4 separate regions of the Homo sapiens genome follow, and regions 2, 3 and 4 are each linked to region 1. The links are contacts of gene promoters, found by promoter capture Hi-C in blood cells and fetal thymus (Javierre and others, 2016). All regions are on one chromosome and are shown on one strand. Each heading gives the region's core, a stretch centred on a gene start or on the middle of the fragment in contact. The rest is flanking DNA. Distances are from core to core; before and after follow the strand shown.

The links. Contacts are between HindIII fragments. The CHiCAGO score rates a contact against its expected background, and 5 or more counts as called.
Region 2: the fragment with the promoter of RPUSD4 here is called in contact with the fragment with the promoter of THYN1 in region 1 in 4 of 17 cell types (monocytes, M0 macrophages, total B cells and 1 more); the score reaches 12.4 in monocytes.
Region 3: a fragment that was not itself captured here is called in contact with the fragment with the promoter of THYN1 in region 1 in 1 of 17 cell types (naive CD8 T cells); the score reaches 6.3 in naive CD8 T cells.
Region 4: a contact is called between a fragment that was not itself captured here and the fragment with the promoter of THYN1 in region 1, in 1 of 17 cell types (monocytes). The highest score is 6.2, in monocytes.

Annotation. Positions count from the first base shown.
Region 1 is chr11:134,252,020-134,254,719 of GRCh38, reverse strand. THYN1 (thymocyte nuclear protein 1) reads left to right here and starts at 1,368. Exons shown (of 7, transcript NM_014174.3): 1 at 1,368-1,880. The coding sequence starts at 1,838. ACAD8 (acyl-CoA dehydrogenase family member 8) reads right to left here and starts at 1,152. Exons shown (of 11, transcript NM_014384.3): 1 at 1,011-1,152. The coding sequence starts at 1,119. RefSeq lists an enhancer at 1,238-1,607. The HindIII fragment of the contact is 5,608 bases long and covers 1-2,700 here.
Region 2 is chr11:126,210,254-126,212,953 of GRCh38, reverse strand. It overlaps RPUSD4 (RNA pseudouridine synthase D4), which reads left to right and starts at 1,304. Exons shown (of 7, transcript NM_032795.3): 1 at 1,304-1,504; 2 at 1,899-2,064. The coding sequence starts at 1,316. It overlaps FAM118B (family with sequence similarity 118 member B), which reads right to left and starts at 1,172. Exons shown (of 9, transcript NM_024556.4): 1 at 1,124-1,172. RefSeq lists an enhancer at 1,290-1,519. The HindIII fragment of the contact is 5,382 bases long and covers 366-2,700 here.
Region 3 is chr11:126,057,185-126,059,884 of GRCh38, reverse strand. The region is part of intron 1 of CDON (cell adhesion associated, oncogene regulated); the gene reads left to right. Among named protein-coding and RNA genes, the nearest start is that of CDON, 4.3 kb to the left of the region's middle. RefSeq lists an enhancer at 1-2,700. The HindIII fragment of the contact is 7,089 bases long and covers 1-2,700 here.
Region 4 is chr11:125,514,834-125,517,533 of GRCh38, reverse strand. No RefSeq gene overlaps it. Among named protein-coding and RNA genes, the nearest start is that of FEZ1, 20 kb to the right of the region's middle. The HindIII fragment of the contact is 1,425 bases long and covers 569-1,993 here.

The sequences.
Region 1 (2,700 bases), core at 119-2,618:
TAACAAAACCCACCTCTAAATAATTCCTTATCTGCTTCGGTATCAACCAGGGTAATCTGGGTTATCAAATTCTAAGCGCTAGGCCAGGGCAGCACCTCTTGAATGAGTTTTAGGACATTCAGAAGAAAACAGTATTCTATGCCTTACTGTACTTTATAGATCTGATATCTAAGGGACTTATTCTGTTGTAAAGAAAACTGCCATTTATTTAAAATAAATTTAAAAATATTTCAGAAGAAAAAAGTGTTTATAAACATTCTTGGCAGAGAAGTCACAAACTGGCCGGGTCTCCACCACTCCTCGCTACATTCAAATTACTGTTCAGAGCCTAAAGACACTCAAGTTTGTCAGCTCTGGTAGAGTTTCCCACTGGCAATAATAATTATTTTTCCTGCATGAGTTTCAACACTAAAAGTGTCTTATAGCCAGAGGTGTTAAGATACCAAATCTTTGTGTGTGAGCAAATCTTGTATGACCTGGAGTTCTTGTGCAGTTGTCACCATCAGCACCCAGCCAGCTTCTTATATTCTCACTGCTTTTATGACCTACTGTTATGATTAAAAACCAACCAACCCAACAACAACCAAGCCCCAAGTTTCTTCACTTCTCTAAGCATCCGAGGGTGACCGGCCGCAGGAGGACCCGGGCCGGAGGGGAACCTGCGGGGGGATGACCGGCCGGAGGGGAACCTGCGGGGGGTGACCGGCCGGAGGAGGACCGGGGCGGGGGTGACCGGCCGGAGGAGGACCGGGGCGGGGGTGACCGGCCGGAGGAGGACCCGGGCAGGGGTGACGGGCCAGATGGGGACCCGGATGGTGGTGACCGACCGGAGGGGGCAGCCAGGCCGGGGGTGACCGGCCGGAGTAGGGAGCCAGGCCGGGGGGGTGACTGGCCGGAAGGGGAGCTGACGCCGGGGTGACTGGATGGAACGGGGAGACTGCAGCCCCTCGCGGACATATGTCCGCCGGGGTTCTGGACACCTGTCCTACTGCCCGCCAGGAGATCCTTACGGTCGATGCAGGAGGTCAAGCTCCGGTGGCCGGTCTGGACGAGGACCCGGAGACCGCCGGGCAGGCAGCCGAGGCGCGCCCCGAAACGCCGGCAGCCGCTCCACAGCATAGCCGCCGCAGCTCCGCGTTCAGCTAAGAGTCTGAACGCCTTCGACCTCCGTTGCGCTCGCACTGGCGGGACCTGCGACCCGGCAACGCCTGTCCCACTGCACCCTGGGGGTTGTAGTCCTCCCACGAGCCCTAACAACCCAGGTGCCAGGCGGGCTCCCAAGGGGACAGGACTACAATTCCCAGAAGTCCTCGGGGCCTCGGCGCCGCAGAGATGCACCGCCCACCAAGCGCCGCGGGGGTCGCGCTGCACAGCCTGCGGCGCAGCGGAGGCGGACCGCAGTCGAGTCTGCAGAGTGTTGGGTCTGTAGCCAGCAAATTACTTCATCATCTAGATTATCCATTCAGTTGATCCTAATTAGCAAGGATAACAAGGTAACACAAGGCTTACTTATATTCACCCAACAAAAGTGTCTCTGTGGAGCCACTTCCCAGTGAACTACATACTGAGATAGGGGTTCCTGGATGAGAAGGACCAAGGACAGAACCGAGAAGAGTTTAGGGGCAGGTTATGCGAGATGGAAATGGCGCAGATAACGGAGGGAAGGATTTGAGGGCTCAAACGTAGGCGTCTGTGTTTCGCAAAAGTTGGAGACGTTCTAGGCTGCCTCTCGTTGCCTCCATCTCGCTCTGCGCGGGTTTTGGAGGACATTAGCATTCTTTCTTGTATCTCCGTTGATTCCAGAATCGTCCGCACTAAAGTCCCCTGCAGCGTGACCATGTCGAGACCCCGGAAGAGGCTGGCTGGGACTTCTGGTTCAGGTGAGCTGCCCCTAGGCTGCACAAAGGCAGCCCAAGAAAAAACTTTTCTCGAAGAGCCTGTTTAGTACTCATTTTTCACTCCCTGCTTTTTGAGAACCCTTTGTGATATTTTTACTCCATTATCCTTAATCACTCTCCATCTTCTTTACTTGTCTCACCAAGCTCCTACCTACAGTTCCTTTTTCTTGTTTATTCAGGCAATGGTTGTTGTGCACAAAGACTCTTTGAGATACCAGGTGGCGTGCTAAAGAATATAAAGCGCCTGCTTGCGGGTGAACTGCAAACAGATGTGATGGGGTTCAGGAAAATGGATTGTTAAGTTTATGGAGGGAGGAATCACGGGGAAGGCCTCGAGAAGGATGTGGAATTTGAGCCCAGCCTTGAAGAATGGGAGACTTTCCACGGGCAAAGTTTAGTACTAAGAAAACGTGATGTCGTTTTTATAATCACAAAGATGGATGGCATTCTAAGTGGATGGAGGAGGAGGAACATTGGAAGGTACAGAAAGTACCTCTTTTGGGAATGACAGGGGTTCCAGATATACTACAGCACATTGCAGTTATTTATCAATATGTGGTGTTTGCAGTGGGCCTGTTAACTCCTAAGGGGCCATTAGGAAACTAGGTTAGGAAGGTATGCTGGGTTCAGAGCATTAGACAGCCATAAATGGTATTTAATGACAATTGATGTAGGGACTTTGACTAAATTCAGAGGCAGTATAGTCATTAAGTAGCTTCAGATAGACCTCAGTGACAGGTGCTGACCTCATATCTTGATTCCACCATTACTGGATGTGTGATCTGGAGCATGCTTCCCAGAT
Region 2 (2,700 bases), core at 55-2,554, 8.0 Mb after region 1:
AACCCTTTCCTTCCCCATCTGTCCTGCATTCAACTGCCAGATTCATTTCCAGAATTCCACTTTCAAGGAGTCTCTCTGCCCTACTCGAAAAGCTTCAAAGACTCCTCACTACGTATCACCTCTAGTTCAAACTCTTCAACTTGAGTCTTCTATGAGTAGCTCCACCTGATCAACTTTGTTTCTTGTTGGTACGGCTCCCTTCTGCCAAACCCTTTAGGAGGTGTAGAACCCAAATCTAATTCAACTACCTATTCTCTAATAACTCCTCAGGCAGCCTTCATTCCAAGCAGTCTTAAAAAATTGTTCCTTCTATCGTCACAGATCCATTAGTTTTCAGGACATTCTTTCTGAACTCAGCATAAGCTTTCCTCTTAACAAATGGCAGGTATATCCCAAGTTATTTTTAACACTACCATCCCAAACAGATGTTTATCTTCCCAGCCACCCCTGAGTGAAATCAGAGGGAGTCGCCTGCAGTTCGGGCAAGGGAATCCCAACATCGCATCTCGTGAGAGGAGGTATGGTGTGGTTGCAAACTATGGAGAGGAAAAATAAAGGAAACAGGAAAAGTGAAGGTCTGTGCTCCGTTCTTTCAGCTTTTTCTTTAGGAGGAGTAGGGAAGGTAGGGAGGAGACCCCCAAGAAATGAATTCTTGAGGAAGGGCAGAAAAAACACTCACAGTGCTTCCTAAGTAGGAAATAGGTGCTGGGGGCCCTGGATAAGGGAAGGGGCCGTCATCCTTAGGAGAAGGGTACAGGTTACAACGCGAAACAAAGAGGCTGGGAGTTGGAAGATGAAGGGTGGAGAGACTACAGAGATCCGGGCATCCGATCAAGAGGGTCCCCGACGCGTCCCGCAGGGGACTGGCGGATCACCGGAGATTCAGTGGCTAAGAGGGACGGCGTCGGTGCCTAGGAGGGCTCTGGGGCGAGCGTTTATGGGACATCGCTCCTAAGGGGGCGCGGGGGCGGGGAGGAGTTTTTGAGTGGGATCGTGTACCAAAAGGAGAAACGTTTCTCAGACCAGTGCTCTTCTTGAACGGAAATCCCGGGGACGCAGAAAACGTTAAACCGTTGAGGCACCGGCATTTCCCAGCCCCAGCCCGGCTTCCCTACACACTCACCGAGTCTCCTCCAAACGCCACTGCTCCAGCTGCAGCTACCGGCCGGCGCAGCCGCACTGAGCGCGCACCGTCCCCACGTGACTCGCCCAGGCCCCACCCCGCACCACGTGACCTGCAGGGCCCACCCACTCCCGCCTCATTGTAGTCGCCCTTCTCCACGTGGTCTTGGCTCGCCCCGCCCTTCCTTGTAAGATGGCGGCGCCCAGGTGGAGCGCGTCGGGCCCCTGGATCCGGGGAAACGGCCAAGGTTGCGGGAGTCTCTTCACTCTCGTCTCAAAGCCATTTTGTGCCGCTGCCGCTGCCTCTACGGCCATAAATGCCCAGAGATTAGCGGAGAAGCTCCGAGCCCAGAAACGGGAACAAGACACAAAGAAGGAGCCGGTGAGTCCAAAGGGACCAGAACTCCCTAGAGGCAGTGCGCTCATTGGTTTCCCAGACGGGGAGTAGGTAGGAGGGTCCTCTGAGTGAAAGCGTGTGAGTCAATAGCCCGGACGCAAGGTGGGAGAATGGGGAGAAGGCGGAGGGGAGGGGTCAGTAAGGGTACGGTGTTTTCCCGTGAGCTGGATCTTTGGCTACTGTCAGGCTCAGTCCTAACCACTGCGTCGGTACGCAGGTTAGACAGATGGGTATCTCTGCTCTCAAATTAGTCGAAGGCGGCGCGGGTCTGATGCAAAGATAGTCATTCCCTACTCAGATTCTCACCCAGACCTTTATGGAAGGTCTTCTCCACGGCTTCCGCACCAGGCATTCCCCACGGCTCCTTCTTTCTCCCTAGGTGTCCACAAACGCTGTTCAGCGGAGAGTGCAAGAAATAGTGCGGTTCACACGGCAGCTGCAGCGAGTCCACCCCAACGTGCTTGCTAAGGCACTGACCCGAGGAATTCTCCACCAGGACAAGAACCTTGTGGTCATCAATAAGCCCTACGGTCTCCCTGTGCATGGTAAGGACCACGCGGGAAAGGTGGAGGAACCTGCAGCTGCTTTCTGCTACAACCGAGGAAAACTGAGACGTTACTTGTGGTGCACTCTAAAGCCTTGCATTCAAATTAATTAAACTTTTGTAAACTACCGTCCAATATAAGGAACCACCGAGAACACAGAAATAAATAAATAAGACAGTCCTCCCTTTCTAAACATCTGACAGTAAGCAATTCGTAGAATACGCTGTGTGCAGACTACAGGGATCGCTGTAGAGATATACAAAGGCTGTGTGGTTCTAGACTAAAGGTTATCTTCCATCAGAACTGGGAATGAGAAAATGATACATAAGAAAAAAGGGGGTGTGTGTGTGTGTGTGTGTGTGTGTGTGTATGTATGTTGGAGTATATGTAACATACAACCCCAGAGTGACTGGAATTTAGTGGACCTTCAAATGTCTTTCAACAGATGTTGCATGTAGTTGTCAGGGACAGCTGAAGTGAATCAGGAAAGATTGATTTAAAAAATGCATTTGTGAAAGAGGGAAAAGGCCCATTTTAGCTAGAAGAAGGTAATGCTTTTTGGGGAGATACGGAGATAGTTGTTCACAAAGACAAGGAATTAAATCACATCACCAAGTGTTTGTATAATTTTTTTCT
Region 3 (2,700 bases), core at 122-2,621, 8.2 Mb after region 1:
GGCTTAAAACATACAGTATCATTGTCATCTGTCTCCTGAATAATGGTCCTGAGGTGATATTATTAATGTGGCTTTTTAAAATCAAGCTAATTATACTTGCCTAAAAGAGCCACATGTGTGTGATTCTAGCTGCCTGGTGCCTTTTGAGAGCCCTGGAGACAAGCTAGTGAATAGAGCTGAAAATTCATTCTGTATTTGATTAAATGGAACAGACTCGCTGCTCCTTACCCCAGCGGGGGCTATGAGATCTCTTGATCCCCGAAGCGGCTCCAAGACCCTGGGAATTCCATTAGCGAGCACCTGAGGAATTTCTGCCCTGCAGTGCCTTTTTTGTATGTGTGTATGTGTGTGTGTGCAGAGGGAGTGGAGCAGAGCGGGGATTGGGGGGATGCGGGCAGGGGGGGTTGAGGGGGTGGAGGGAAGGCTACATTAGAAGACTCCATATGTTGGCAGATCTAAAATCAAGGCATGACTTAACAGCTTATCTTGTAAGAGAAAAGCCCAACCCAAAGGCAGATTGCTAGTCCGGACTTTATTACAAGCAGGACTACAGTGATGTGTTTTCAGCACTGAAGTGAACTCCAGTGTAAGTACAGAAAGTGGCTTCTCTGCTTTCCCTCCGAAGCACAAGCATATACACGTTGCAGACTTGGTAAGTTTTCTTTGAATGATCTTTTGATAAATATGTAAAATTATCTTACTGTTTGGTCTTGCCTGTAAAGGCTGATGTATCGTTTTAATAACTTTCAAACTGAGAGCAAAATCAGACTTCATGTGAAACAAATGGTTTTGCAGTGATGAAATGCTTGTTTTAATAGGCATATTTTAGTTTACTATTGATAGAATTTGATTGTTTCTGTTACATTATTATTATTATAGAATTCTAATTTAGATTATGTCTTTTCTGTTGTCTTTTTAAGAATTGTATCATTTCTAGTGTTTCTGAGGCATTACTTTGCAGACTTGCTAGCAGCGCCAAGTAAATGAAAATCTATCTGCCAAAAACATTCTGTAAAATCTTTGGAGCAAAATTTTTGAGAAACATTAGTGTGTCTTCCTTCCCAAGTCCCTTTTCCCCTGCCTCAAATAATGTTTGGGCACAAACTTTTTTTCAGAATATTAGCCCAGTTTGTTTCTTGTGTACTTTTCAAGGAAGACCAGTTCTGAATGGTGGATGGTGTAGTTAATTGGTTTTCATCTACCAAGAATGTGAATTCCAATGCTCCTGGTTTTCAGCTAATGCAGAATGCAGTAGCATATTTGATGGTTCATTTGATATATTTTGTTTCCAAGTAAAGTCGTGTTGTAAATAGTGCACAGTCTTTTCCGTCCTACTCCCATGTAGCCCTCTACCAAGTTCTCCTCACAATACAGTGTGTTCAGAAAATAAAGAAGCCTTTTTGAAGATATGTTTAGCTTTTTTCCACCTTAATCCTGGGCATTTCTCCTACTACTATGGCCAGATTGAAAGGACCCTTGAATGAATTGGAGTAAACACTGCAGTTTGTGCCTGTCCGCATTCACAGCTGTTTAGTCGCTTTGCTGTGCGGTATATTTTGATGGCCAGAGAGAATAAAAAAACTAGCCCAAAGAACATTTTGTTCTGCTGTATATCTGTTGGAATGTGAGTAGGGACTCCAGTGCTTAAGAGCCACTGATGTGCCTTTCATCTTACTCGAGAAAAAATATATGGGTTATATTACTGAACTTAGCTTACATATTTTGTTTATGTTTTGTTACTTGGAACTGTGAGGCCAATTTTATTTTTATGTTACCCTAATACAAACAGAGAATTTGGACGCTGACATAGAGCTTGCTTTTCAGCTATTCTTGTTGTAGACCAGCTCACTTCTTGTTATTTATGTGAGCCTGGGCAATGATCTTGACTTAAGCCTTGGGGGTCTTTGTCTGTAAAATGGGTATAATAACAGAAATTATGTCTTACCATTGTTGTGGGATTAAATGAGATAATGAAAGTCAAGCACTTGGCATATAGTAAAACCTCTGTAAATGTTAGCTGCTGTTATTTTTATTAACTCCTCCTGTATATGTAAGTGTACATGTATTTCTCAGAAGCTAGTAATAGTGCGGGCACGTGAAACAATACAGCTTTCTTAAATTTGCAGCTGAAACTTAGAAGGCACTTGGACATTGTGTGTAATTTTTTTCCAGTTGAGGTGTAACATAGTAATATCACAAGTGTACAGCTAATGTATACTAAGTGAACAGCTAGATGAATTGTTACATATGCACATGTCTGTGGTAACCAGTACCCAGATGGAGATATAGAACATTTCCTTGGCCTTAGAAAGCTCCCTGGTGCCCATCCCAGGCAGCCCTCCCTCTTGCTAGCAGGCAGCAGCTATTCTGAAGAGTTGGAATAGATGAGTTTTGCCTGTTCGTGAACTGTATGAACATGGACTCCTACAGTATGTAGTCTTATGTTGGAGTTCTTGCACTGCTCAATAATGAGCATTGTAATAGACATAAGCCTGTGAGATTTATTCATGTTATTGAATAACATTTATTTATGTATACAGTACTAATTCATGCTTTGTAAATTGTTGTAGAGTCTTTTGTGCGGTTTGAAATTCATAATAATTCATTTTATTGGCACATTGGATACACAGTCTTTGGGGGAAAAAAGAAAATAACACTTCTTCCTACATTACTAGAAAATCAGATCCCAATGGCTATCTT
Region 4 (2,700 bases), core at 32-2,531, 8.7 Mb after region 1:
GGTTCAAGGTCCAGCCTGGAGATACCAGAGTTAACAAGACCCCTTTTGCAGGATCTCCTGGGCTAAGACCAACTCTGTCCCTCCCCTCCCTTTTTTTTTTTTTTTTCTTTCCCTAGGAGCAATTTAGTTTCCCTTTCTCTTTTGGTAGATAAAAGCTGCCTGTGGGAATGCAGCAGCTCTTCCTAGTAACCATGGGAACCTTATTGGCATGGCAACCTGGCAGCCATAAGAAAGGCAGCTGGGGGGGTGGAGGGAAGGGAAGAGGTGGGAAGTAGTCCTTAGGAATAGGGGAGGGGGAAGCAGCCTTCCTTCCTGCAGAGGAGAGAAAAAGGAGGAAAGGAGGGCAGCTGGACCCAAGGAGAATCCGCTGATGAGTTCAAACCTCACTCCTTAATTCAGCTGAGGTGGGCCTTAGAGCAGGGCTGGGAGCCAAATGTGGAACTAAGATCTAAACCTATTGATATTTTTCTGTTCTGAAGTATAACTCAGGAACACCAAGAAAAGAGTAGGGGCTGGAGACACAGAGTAAATGATCCTACAACACGTGTGCAAATTTTGACGTCAAGCTTTGGTTGCAGGCAAAATACCACCCAGAGCTTTTTCGGGCTCTGGAGCCCAAGAACCTTTTATTAAAGATATCTAGGGACAAGGACATTTCCAAGCAGCACCTAAAGCAAGAAAAAAAAAATCTTTGCAATAATGTTGAGAATGTCTGGGAATATAGTAAAAGCAGAAACAAACAAATGAAGGGACCAAGAAACCCTCAGAAAGATAAAAAGTTTATTTTAAACTGAAACCATTTGAGCTACAGCAGATGCAGATAGAAATCATATCTGGACTTCCCTGATCTGACTAAAGCAGAGCCTCCCAAAATACGACTGCCATTAACCCCCCTTCAGGTTTGGGAGAATCCCCAGATTTGGTCTAATTCAGCTTCCAGCCAGAAAGAAGACTGTACATTAGCATCAGAATAAAAAAGCCCAATAGAATCTTCCATACATTCCCAATGAAGCCTTAACCACCATTCCCTTTTGTTAAACTGATGCAGTCACACGTACCCCTGGCTATTTTTGCCAGGGATTACCCTTTACTGAGTACTCCCCCATGCATGTGTAAATAATCCTTGTCTTTTCTTCTGTGGATCTGTCTATCATCAATTAATTTGCAGTCCCCCAAGCCCCAAACACACACTACAACATAGTTGGTGGAAGAAAAGACTTCCTTCCAACACAGACAAAAACCCATTAGGGAAAAATAACTATTGCAGAAGAAGGAGTGAGCAGCAGCGTGGTTAGCAGAGCCCTGCCAGTACTTGTTTTAGACTCAGCTAAAATCCTTCTCAGCATTTTTTTTTTTTTGCACTGGAGTCTCGCTCTGTCACCCAGGCTGGAGTGCAGTGGTGCAGTCTCGGCTCACTGCATCCTCTGCCTCCCAGGTTCAAGTGATTCTCCTGCCTCAGCCTCCGAGTAGCTGGGATTACAGGCGCCCGCTGCCACACCCAGCTAATTTTTGTATTTTTAGTAGAGACAGGGTTTCACCATGGTGGCCAGGCTGGTCTCGAACTCCTGACCTCAGATAATCTGCTCGCCTCGGCCTCCCAAAGTGCTGGGATTACAGGCGTGAGCCACAGCGCCTGGCTCATTCTTGTTTTTTTTGATGAACATAGTGGGAACGTGGCTATCCTGAACTTTGGAGTCAGATGGCTCTCTGGGTTAGAACTCCTGCCTTACCCCTTCTTAGCTGTGTGAGCCTTGAACAAATTATCCCATCCCTGAGAGCCTGTTTTCTCATTTTCCTAAACAAAGGGTAATCATACATACTTTATAAGGTCATTGTGCAAATAAAATGAGATGAAAAGTTTAACAAACAGTATTGTTAGGTAAAGCTCCTTACATAGTAAGCACATAAATGGCTGCTCTTGTTACGCTGCTTGCTTTTTAGAAATGAATCTGTTTGGGTAGTAGTGTAGCATCACCTGAGACCTGACTAAGCTTTTGTTTGCTTATTTGTTTAAGATTCATTGACTTTTTAAAAAATCACACTTTTACTGAGATATAATCACATACCATAAAATTTACCTTTTCATTTATTATTTAGAGACAGGGTCTTGTTCTGCTGTGCAGGCTAGAGTGCAGTGGTGTGATCACAACTCACTGCAGCCTCTACCCCTTAGGGTCAAGTGATCCTCCTGCCTTCTTAGTCTCCCAAGTAGCTGGGGCCACAGGTGTGTGCCACCCTACCCAGCTAATTAAAAAAAAACTTGTTTGTAGAGATGGGGTCTTGCTATGTTGGCCAGTCTGGTCTTGAACTCCAGGATTTAAGCAATCTTCCTGCTTTGGCATTCCAAAGTGCTGGGATTATAAGCATGAGCCACAGCATCCAGCCACACTTTTTTTTTTTTTTTTTTTGAGATGGAGTTTTGCTCTTGTTGCCCAGGCTGGAGTGCAATGGCGCAATCTTGGCTCACTGCAACCTCCGCCTCCCAGGTTCAAGTGATTCTCCTGTCTCATCCTCCCAAATAGCTGGGATTACAGGCATGTGCCACCCCATTTGGCTAATTTTGTATTTTTAGTAGAGACAGAGTTTCTCCGTGTTGGTCAGGCTGGTCTTGAACTCCCGACCTCAGGTGATCCGCCTGCCTCGGCCTCCCAAAGTGCTGAGATTACAGGCGTGAGCCACCACGCCCAACCAGCCACCCTT